2 separate regions of the Homo sapiens genome follow, and region 2 is linked to region 1. The links are contacts of gene promoters, found by promoter capture Hi-C in blood cells and fetal thymus (Javierre and others, 2016). All regions are on one chromosome and are shown on one strand. The core of a region is centred on a gene start or on the middle of the fragment in contact, and the rest is flanking DNA. Distances in the headings are between cores, read along the strand shown. Region 1 holds the start of CNTRL (centriolin). Region 2 overlaps C5 (complement C5).

The links. Contacts are between HindIII fragments. The CHiCAGO score rates a contact against its expected background, and 5 or more counts as called.
Region 2: a contact is called between a fragment that was not itself captured here and the fragment with the promoter of CNTRL in region 1, in 2 of 17 cell types (naive CD8 T cells and naive CD4 T cells). The highest score is 5.2, in naive CD8 T cells.

What each region holds. Positions count from the first base shown.
Region 1 is chr9:121,072,203-121,077,881 of GRCh38, reverse strand. It overlaps CNTRL (centriolin), which reads right to left and starts at 2,927. Exons shown (of 44, transcript NM_007018.6): 1 at 2,815-2,927. It also overlaps a transcript of C5 not described here. RefSeq lists silencers at 2,523-2,662, 2,783-2,842, 3,467-3,663 and an enhancer at 2,963-3,352. The HindIII fragment of the contact is 4,047 bases long and covers 1,955-5,679 here.
Region 2 is chr9:121,024,051-121,029,729 of GRCh38, reverse strand. C5 (complement C5) reads left to right here. Exons shown (of 41, transcript NM_001735.3): 8 at 2,456-2,570; 9 at 4,150-4,276. Among named protein-coding and RNA genes, the nearest start is that of C5, 23 kb to the left of the region's middle. The HindIII fragment of the contact is 5,010 bases long and covers 151-5,160 here.

The sequences.
Region 1 (5,679 bases), core at 1,678-4,177:
CTTGCCTTCCTGGGCTCAAGTGATCCTCCTACCTCAGCCTCCTGAGTAGCTGGGACTACAGGCGCATATAACCACGCTTGGCTAATTTTTTATTTTTTGTAGAGATGGGGGGTCTCACTATAGTTCCCAGGTTGGTCTTGAACTCCTGGGCTCAAGTGATCCTCCTGCCTCAGCCTCCCAAAGTGCTGGGATTACAGGTGTGAGCCACTGTGCCCAGCCTGTAGTTTTTACATCCTAATGATCAAGACCCTTTAGGTCTCACCAGACTATCATGAGGTCCTTTATTACCTCTCCTGATTAGTAAAAGTCAGGCTTACTCATTCATAGACTTAAACCCTTGGTTGCCACAGCTTCTGTAAAGCTTGGACACTGAAACAAGATAGACGTAATCAGTCTCAGAGAATAGCTAACTCAGTGAAGTGGGCTTAGGGGTTTACAGTGTTTGAGAATGGCTGGCATTATTTCTTAGGCTACTGCCTGGAGGTGGTAAATGCTGAATTATAATTTTAATGGAGAGATGAGGATGTAGTTTGATCTAGGATGTTGTTTGCAATCACATGAACAAAGACCAAGCAAGCAATGGAAAAATGAAGACAACTGAGAGGTAGGCTAGGGCGAGTAAAGGAGCAGGATAAAGAGAAAAAAAAAGCAAATAAAGTTCAGAGCTGCAGTTGTATTTTAAAGGCTGTCTGCAGAGCAAGAGAAAGCCATTGGAATGACATGATAATCAGAATCCTACGTCCAGGCAACAAAACACTACCCATCCTGCCACCTATAAACCCAGATAGTTGCTCTGATCTAACAATTCAGTCCATCACAGCTTAGTACAGACTGCAAACTCCACCTCCATCCAGCCTTTCCTAACCTTCCTAACTTCCCATCTTCTCTGATCTCCAAATAACGCAGACCTCCTTCTGTCTCTCTACAGACTCCCTAATATGCAAATACCCATCCCCATTTATTAACCCCCATATCCCTCTCCTTAGCCCTTTAATTGGATTTCAGTACTTTCCAAGTCTACTTCATCCCATACCCTCTGACCTACTGAAATACTTTTACTCCTTAATCTTCTCCTCCTTTCAAATATCCTGATTCCGATTCCTCTGCAAAGTCTCCAGCCATTTTTCTTTCCAAAGCCAATTCCCCCATTCTGTGCTGCCCACCCACCTCTGCCTCCCATTCTTCTTTATCCCATTCTGATTGCCAATTTTCCCACAAATTCTATCCCAGTTCCCTAACACAGTAATAGTCTCCCCCATTTCTCTATGGTTCTTTCCTGTGCCCAGACTCAACATTTCTCTATCCATCCAGACTTCCCAAGCTGCTCATCTCTCTTCACCCCAGAAAATACCCTGACATCCTAATGCGTTCCAATACTCTGACCTCCAATTACTCCCCTCCCTAAACAAAATACTCAAACCTCCATCCATTCCTCTTCATCCCAACCCAACTGCCTGCCTATTTGCCTTTCCATCCTAATACTCTAGCCCCCGTATCCTTCTCCATCCTATTAAAAGCCTGAATCCCCTCTCCCATCTCTCTTCTTCTGCTCAGATACCCTAAAACTCAAGCTTCCCATCTCTTTCCATTAATTATTCAATTTTATTGAGCAACTTTTATGTAGGAAGAACCATGCTAGAATCTAAGCTCAAGATGCAGAAGATTTTATCTCCCTATTACCCATGATCTCTGCACCAAGCAGTCTCCTTCATAGCATTTTATAACCATTATTTGTGAAACTACTTGGTTGTTGCCTGTTTCTCCTTCTAGACTATAAGCTACAAGAGAGCAGAGGTTTTGTCTGTTGTTCTATAAACAATAAATATTTGTTGACTGAAGGACTGTACTAAACACTTAGACAATACCAAATTTAAATCCTCAAAGATTTAGCTGTATAGGATCAGAATTATTAACCTGATTTACAAATGGCAATGTACCTGAACAGTTAAAAGCTTGGATTCTGGAACGAAACAGCCTGAGTTCAAATTCTGATTTTCCACTTACTGTGTGATCTTAGGCAAATTACTTAACCTCTCTGGTCCTCAGTGCTATCACTTTTTAAATGGGGATGATAACCTCATACAAGTTATTTTAAATTCTAAATGAGGTTAATACGTGCAAAGTGCTTAAAACTGGATCTGACAAATAGTGAACACCCAAAAATGATTCGCAATTATTTGGACAAATGAGGAAACATGATCAGGAAGGCTCAGACACATATCCAGGGTCACAGACCTGGTTAAGTTACACAAGGTGGCAGAATTGAGGCTTCAACCCAAGTTTGTCTGGCTTCAAAATTCTCTAGTCCCTTAACGAATATAACGGAAGTGTTTGTTCTTCCCCTTCTTTTAGCATTTCGTCCCCATATCCTGTCATCTTTCTCCACGCACTGTACTCCGTCCGATACCGTGACAACCCGTCAGGACGCCCAAACTGTCCTTTCTCCCGCTCACTCCCCACAGACAGCTGGCACATCCCAGCTCTCCCCTCAGCTCAGGTGGCAGGACCCACAACCTTCTGGGCGCCGCACCCTAACTTCCACACCTCCCCACACTCTGGTTCTTCATCCCCAATCGCCCCCGCCGTCCCCACCTCTTCCCATCCAAACCTCCCTCCTTCATCCACCGCCCCACGCCCGTTCCGGGCCCTCCCCTCTTTCCCGTCCAATCCCAATTCCCAGACACGCGCCCCCGCCCCGAATCCATCCCAAGCCGGCCCACACCACGCCCGGTCCGGGCCTTCCCGCCTTTGCCGCCGGCCCCCACTGCTCGGGCCGGATGCCGGGGAACGGGCTCGGCCAGGTCTGACGCTCACCGCCTAGAAGCCGAGCCGAGCAGTCCCGCAGGCTGAGGTAGAGCGGGAGAAGTTCGGGCTCTTTCCTCAGGGGCCCAGCGGCGCGGCAGCCATTTTGTTGTGTTGTGCCGGTTGCCGAGGGGCCGCGCGCGCGTGGTCGGGGCTAGTCTCAGCCACGCCCCTCTCCCTCTCCGGTACTGTTGGAAGGGACGCGGAGGCGTTTCCCGCCTCTTTTGCAGCCAGCGCGCTAGGATGCCGGGGAGTCTTGGGCGCGAGGCTTCCGGCCGCGCGGGGCCGACGGGATGCGGTGCCTTCGCCTTCGGATTGCGTTGCAGGTGAAGTGTCGGGTGCAGAGTCAGGGGGAGCCGAGGTTTCATGCGGCAGCTGCCCGCAGTGCTGTGGCCTTCGCTGAGACAAAGCTGCCGCCGCCACCCTCTGAAACACGGACACGCTTCTCAGGGCCTGTGTCCGAGGACGGCCTGAGGCACCGGCGCAGCGCCTCCCCGGCCTCCCCCACTTCTGATGCTTGCGCGCTATGAGCGAGTGTTCTTATCAGCACACTTCTCTCTGACAGTCGTATCTAAAGCGAATTCCCTCCAGGGACCGAACTGCCCAGGCTCGGATGAACCTCAAAGCGGACGCAGCCTGGGCTCCAGCTGTCGCGTGAGGTTCAGGGAGCTTGGGAATCCTAGGCAGAGGATGTTCCTCTGATTGCTACAAGGGAGTTAAAGCAAGAAGCACTTGCACAGGCTTCATCTGGGGCTTGCCCATGAGCACGGCGTTCACGACATGCATTCAACAGATATTTTAAAGAATTTAGCAGATACTGGGCTGGATGCTAGGGAAACACTGAAGTTTTTTTTAAAGTGTTATCACCATTGACGCCTTTCACTCCAGTAGCCTCCCGTTTTGAAGGTATACCCTGGACCATGTTACCATCAGAGGCTGCACCCGCTCCAGAAATCCCCAGTGCAATCGCTCCCCATCCTTGACTATAATCCTATCATCTTAGCAGCGTGCCTGCTCAAAAGACCCCTATGCCAGCGTATTTCTAAACTTCCTTGCGTCTTCCAGTCCCTTGTTCTTACCATTTTCTCGCGATCATTCTATCCTGTCTTCATTTCCTTTCTTCACTACAGAGTTTATAGGCCACCTGTATAACACTTTTAGAAACTCCCTCTCTCTCTGTGTCTCAGTTTCCTTATCTATGAAATGAGGTCCTTTTACCTATTAACACTTCCTACAGTTTTCCTGATAATTATAAAAGTGAATCCTGGCCGGGCGCTGTGGCTCATGCCTGTAATCCCAGCACTTTGGGAGACCAAGGTGGGAGGATCACTTGAGGTCAGGAATTCAAGATCAGCCTGGCCAACAAGGTGAAACGCCGTCTCTACTAAAAATACAAAAATTACCCGGGCGTGGTGGCGCACGCTTGTCATCCCAGCTGCTTGAGAGGCTGCAGGAGGATCGCTTGAACCCGGGAGGCGGAGGTTGCAGTGAGCCGAGATCGCGCCACTGCACTCCAGCCTGGACGACAGAGCGAGACTCCATCTCAAAAAAAAAAAAAAAAAAAAAAAGTCCAGTTTTCCTGATAATTATAAAAGTGAATCTCTGTGAAAGAACTTAGAACAGTGAGGGACCCATAGTAAGTTCTCAATATGTCTTAGATATTTCATTATTAGACAAAGGTTACCCAGAAGCAATACTTCTTTCTACGCCCAAAAGAAGAGTTTAGGCAAGGAGTAGGGAGGTGGGGAAGAATTTGCTTGGCAAAGGGAACAACTTGTGCAAACCCCGGAAGCGGGGGAAAAGAGCTTGGCAATGTGCTGAATGTTAAGTAATTCAGTGTGGCTGGAACAAAACATGAGTATGGAAACATGAAGTAGTTCAGTATGGCTTGTGCAAAAATCTGGGGTGGAGAAGCTAAATCTGGAAAAGGGACCATATTATAAGCAGTATTAGGCACTTCATTTTTCCTTAAGGCAGAGATGGCTTCACCTCTATAGGAAATTCAGGGGACGTCCAACAGGGAATAAGCTGCAATAAACATGGGGATGCAGATGTGTCTTTGATTTACTTTGATTTACTGATTTCCTTTTCCTTTTACTTAAATGTGATTCCCATTGACATTTAAGTGAATGGTGCTGTCCTCTCCCCAACTATTTACACGACACAGAACGAAGCCCTTGGAGTTTAAACGCAGAATTTTTGAAAAGCTCCACTTAAGAGGAGATTACATTCATTTTTTTTCTTTTCTTTTTTTTTTTTTTTTTTTTAATTTTTTGAACAGAGTCTGGCTCTGTCACCCAGGCTGGAGTGCAGTGGCAGGATCTCGGCTCAGTGCAACCTCCGCCTCCCGGGTTCAAGCGATTCTCCTGCCTCAGCCTCCCGAGGAGTTGGGATTACAGGCACGCACCACCAAGGCCAGCTAATTTTTGTATTTTAGTAGAAACAGAGTTTCACCATGTTGGTCAGGCTGGTCTCAATCTCCTGACCTCACGTGATCCGCCCGCCTCGGCCTCCCAAAGTGCTGGGATTACAGGCGTGAGCCACCGCGCCCTGCCGAGATTACATTCATTTTTAATCGAAGTTCAGGTGATATTTATTAGATTGGAATGTGTACGTTGCTGAGTTTCAGTTCTATTTGCATATGTTTTGACACCCATCGTTTCGGTTTCTTGTACCCAGAAACTTAGATTTATTGCGTAACCTCATTGCTGTGTCCCTCAAAGTCTGTAATGGTATTCACGTGGGATCCATTATCAAGCCGTGGTGTGCTGATGTAGTTCATTATCAATCATATTAGTATCAATTAATAGCCATCAAATATACATAAAAAGTCCAGAGGGTGGCGCAAAACACTTTTCTCTTGGGTGATCTCTCAGT
Region 2 (5,679 bases), core at 1,406-3,905, 48 kb after region 1:
TTCTTTTGTCCAAAGCAAGTTACAAGGTCAGCCCAGAGGAAATAGACCCCTCCCACACTTTGTGGACACAAGGAACTGTGCAAAGGTCGTTGATACATGGGGAGGTAGAGAATTGGGGGTTAGTTTTGCAAGCAACCTATCACAAAAGCTTAGGTCATTTTAAAATTACAATATAATGTAGTTATACCAATCTATATAACTATATGTGTGGGGTACTCTTCTAAGTACTCAGCATATATTAGCACATTTAATCTTTACAACAACTCTATGCGTTGATATTGTTACTATTCCCATGTTACAAGTGGAAAAACTGAGGTACATAAATGTTTAATAATTTGCTCAAAATCATACAGCTAGTAAGTTGCACAGCCTGTCTGCTTCCAGAGTCCATGCCTCAAACATTACCCTATGCTAGCTCTCTTATTAGCATTGATTTGAAAAATAGAGTGTTTATTACTTGGTCTAAACCAGCATAAAAGGCTCACTTGAGAGAAAATTATAGAAACTGACCTCCTATAATGGGGACTATTTATTCAAACCATAAATAAGGAAAGTTAGCTCTTGCTATAGTATTATTTGCTGGGTAGAAAGTTTACTTTATTCTTACTTTAATTCTAAACTAAAAAGGGAAACATGCAGTTTAAATTTTTTATGAATAGATCTCATATAACAGTGAGATTGGACACGTACCTTTTAAAAACATAAAAGAAAACAGAGAGTAGCTGATATCAAAATTATCAAGGAAGTAATTTGGCATATAGGAGAGGGCCCTGATTCTAAGTCTTGTGATCTCCCCAAGATCAATTTTTTTCATCTAGCACATAGCTTTATTAATGTGGCTTTATGAGGATGAAATGTAATAGTGCATGAAGGACACTTTATTTATTATTATTATACTTTAAGTTCTAGGGTACATGTACACAACGTGCAGGTTTGTTACATAGGTATACATGTGCCATGTTGGTTTGCTGCACCTATTAACTCATCATACATTAGGTATTTCTCCTAATGCTATCCCTCCCCGTCCCCCACCCCATGACAGGCCCCAGAGTGTGATGTTCCCCGCACTGTGTCCAAGTGTTTTCATTGTTCAGTTCCCACCTGTGAGTGAGAACATGCGGCATTTGGTTTTCTGTCCTTGTGGTAGTTCACTCAGAATGATGGTTTCCAGCTTCATCCATGTCCCTGCAAAGGACATGAACTCATCCTTTTTTATGCCTGCATAGTATTCCATGGTGTATATGTGCCACATTTTCTTAATCCAGTCTATCATTGATGGGCATTTAGGTGGGTTCCAAGTCTTTGCTAGTGTGAATAGTGCTGCAGTAAACATACGTGTGCATGTGTCTTTATAGCAGCATGATTTATAATCCTTTGGGTATATACGCAGTAATGGAATCACTGGGTCAAATTGTATTTCTAGTTCTAGATCCTTAAGGAATTGCCACACTGTCTTCCACAATGGTTGAACTAGTTTACACTCCCACCAACAGTGTAAAAGCGTTCCTATTTCTCCACATCCTCTCCAGCATCTGTTGTTTCCTGACTTTTTAATGATTGCCATTCTAACTGGTGTGAGATGGTATCTCATTGTGGTTTTGATTTGCATTTCTCTGATGACCAGTGATGATGAGCATTTTTTCATGTGTCTGTTAGCTGCATAAATGTCTTCTTTTGAGAAGTATCTGTTCATATCCTTTGCCCACTTTTTGATGGGGTTGTTTGTTTTTTTCTTGTAAATTTGTTTAAGTTCTTTGTAGATTCTGGATATTAGCCCTTTGTCAGATGGGTAGATTGCAAAAATTTTCTCCATTCTGTGGGCTGCCTGTTCACTCTGATGGTAGTTTCTTTTACTGTGCAGAAGCTCTTTAGTTTAATTAGATCCCATTTGTCAATTTTGGCTTTTGTTGCCATTGCTTTTGGTGTTTTAGTCATGAAATCCTTGCCCATGCCTATGTCCTGAATGGTATTGCCTAGGTTTTCTTCTAGCGTTTTTATGGTTTTAGGTCTACCATGTAAGTCTTTAATCCATCTTGAATTAATTTTTGTATAAGATATAAGGAAGGGATCCAGTTTCAGCTTTCTATATATGGCTAGCCAGTTTTCCCATCACCATTTATTAAATTGGGAATCCTTTCCCCATTTCTTGTTTTTGTCAGGTTTGTCAAAGATCAGATGGTTGTAGATGTGTGGTGTTATTTCTGAGGCCTCTGTTCTGTTCCATTGGTCTATATATCTGTTTTGGTACCAGTACCATGCTGTTTTGGTTACTGTAGCCTTGTAGTATAGTTTGAAGTCAGGTAGCATGATGCCTCCAGCTTTGTTCTTTTTGCTTAGGATGAAAGACACTTTAAAGTGCCTCAAGTGCTTTACGTAATTTCAAATTGTTACATTTTATCTGAATCCTGTTATTGTAACCATGTTAGTAAAACAGTTTTATGCTATTGTCTGACAGATATTTTTATAATAAAGTAGTCACTGAGGCTGACGTTTATATCACATTTGGAATAAGAGAAGACTTAAAAGATGATCAAAAAGAAATGATGCAAACAGCAATGCAAAACACAATGGTAAGATGTTAAGACACAGTCACTCACACCTACAGATGCATCCAGAGGTGAGAGATGAGAAGTTACTTAAAAACCATCTAGTCCAATCCCCCATTTTAGATAGGTTGAAACTTAAAATCCTCCATTGGCTTCCCTTTGCCTTTAGGGTAAAGTTCATTTTCCTTGGCATCAGCCTCCCTTACCAGCTGATCTCATGCCCTTTCCTCCCTCCCTCCCCTTTGTATTAATCACTCCAATTTCTCTAACTGACCAAAGTCTCTCTTGCCTCCAGGTCTTTACAATATCATTTATTCTGCTTGAAAATGCTCTTTCCCATTGTCACCTCCTGCCCCTTCTTTGCCTGGCTAATTCCTTCTCATTCTTTAAGTTTCAACATTGACAGCCTTTCTCTGGGAAGCCTCCCCTGACTCTTCTACACTAGGTTAGCTGCCCCGGCTGTATAGCCTCTTTTCTTAACACATTCTTCACATTTCATTGCAGCGGTTCTCAACTAGGGGTGATTTTTTATTCCCAAGGAGACATTTGGCAATGTCCAGAGACATTTGTGGTTGCTACTGGTGTTTACTAGGGAGAGGCCGGGGATGCTGCTAAATTCCTACCATGCACAGGGCAGGCCCCTACAACAAAGAATTATCCTGTTCAAAATGTCAATAATGCTGAGGGGTTGAGAAACCCTTCTTTACTGGAATGGCTTGTTTACTTATCTATCATTTTCAATATTAAACTATTTGTGAGTCTGAATCATTTCCCTTATATGCCCAGAGACAGCATAGTTTCTTGCAAGGAAATATTCATGAAGTTATTTGTCCATAGTTTAGGGCTAATGATTGCTGGAACTGAGATTAGGGCGCTGGTTCCCTTTCCCTTATTCAGCATTCTTTACATTATACCACAGATGATATGAGTTCATGTCATTTTTGCTCACTTTTTCGTATTCATTTGGTTTGCATCATCAATCATTTATCCTCTACAATCTTATTAATTCAAGATGTAAATTAAATGCATTTTTAAAATGCAAAATTCTATGCTAGACACTGGGATGTAAAGCTAAATAAGACAAAAATGCCTGCCCTCAAGTCGCTCAATTTTATAAGAAAAAATAAGGCAAAGTTTATTTTACTGTTGTGTTAATAATTAAATAATATAATATGACTTAACCCCACATCCCTTTACTCATTGTGTGTTTTAAAATTAGTATTTAAATTTGTAAGCAGTGAAGTACAAATTAAATATTATAAAAACCAACAAACTCTCAGTTAAGGGCGGAAGTACGCTGAGAGGCCTATAAAGATGAATGATGACGCAGGAATTGGAAGAAGTCGTGTTTGTCAGCTATTACCAAAAAGACCTGTTGGACCATGTGATGTTCAAGACCCTTCTACTTCTATAATTCTATACAAATAATTAGAAAATAACATCCTGGGCTTAATCGTGGACTCGGTTATCTACTTTACTTTTGACACTAAACCATTCTTCTGACATTTACCTTCAATTTAGAGGTTAGTAAAAGCAGATTTTATTAATTTTTCCTTATAAGTTCTTCTCCGAAATAACTCCTCCTTTTTCTCCTTTTAAAAAGTTGATAAATGGAATTGCTCAAGTCACATTTGATTCTGAAACAGCAGTCAAAGAACTGTCATACTACAGTTTAGAAGATTTAAACAACAAGTACCTTTATATTGCTGTAACAGTCATAGAGTCTACAGGTAAGTGTGTGTGTGTGTGTGTGTGTGTGTGTGTATACTTTCTTTTGAAAAATATTTAGACAGAATATTAAAGATATAAATAATTTCCAATTTCTATAATTATTTCACATTGTATTTTCTTTCATAGTTAAATATAATTATAAGAAGTAGACTTTTATATAGTTATAAAAAGGCAGTAGGGCTCTGCTTCTTTTTAGTCATTGGACAAGCCATTGGGTCCCTATTACCTCCACTTCTACTGCAAAAATGGGAAAACAGTACCCAATTCATGTCCAAAGTAGTTCTGCAGGCTCTCTGCCTTGACCATTTGGCACCCTAGTGTCCTCACGTGGTGAAAATCAAAACCAAAATAAGATTATGTGTGTAAAACTATTTGATAAAGTACTATACAAATAAAAGTTATTACTATTATCATTATTATAGTCTACATAATGATGGAGTCAAACTGAATGTTTCCTAAAGCCTAAAGTTTTCAACATTATTTTAATGTTTCTTCTTTTTATTTTTTCCTCAACTTATTTTAAATAAGTTCAGTTTAAGCAGTATCTATGAGATATTTAAAGTATTGCCAAACAGACAGGCTTGCAAACATTAATGATGTATGATGCCAGCACTAAAGTGGCTTACAAATTAGCATCAGGTATAAGACAGGTGAAGAAAGAACTGTTGCAAGAAAGAATTCCATATGAGCTCTAAGCAAAATATTAATGCAATAGGATTCAGAGGAAGGTGAGCTTCTAGATGATTGTTGAGCAAGCAAGAACAGTGTTGTGAAGATGATCAGTCTTGAAAAATAATTAGGGTTTTGAGGCAGAGTTGCTAGACAGGGTGAAATAGAAACCCTCCAGAGAGAGGGCAGATGAAGAAGAGTAGATGGTGAAGCTTAATCTTTGAGGACAGCAGATCATCCAGTTTGGCTAAAATATAGGATATGTATAGAATGTATTAGAGATGTAATATTGGAAAGGAGTTTGGGAATATTAAAGCTTCAAATGTTATTCTTAATAGTTTAACTTAATCTTTACCTGGAGGATAACATTATTGGGCTCTTGCCAGTTGTCTGGTCATGTCCCCTTCCCTCCCCCTCCCCCCTCCCGCTCCCCTCCCTCCCCTCCCCCTCCCCTCCCCCTCCCCTCCCCCTCCCCCCTCCCGCTCCCCTCCCCTCCCCCTCCCCTCCCCCTCCCCCCTCCCACTCCCCCCTCCCCCTCCCCCCTCCCCTCCCCTCCCTCCCTCCCCTCCCGAGTCTTGCTCTGTTGCCCAGACTGGAGTGCAGTGGTACAGTCTCAGCTCAATGCAACCTCCGCCTCCTGGGTTCAAGCAATTCTCCTGCCTCAGCCTCCCGAGTAGCTGAGATTACAGGCATATACCACCATGCCTGGCACTTTTTTTGTTTTCGTTTTTTA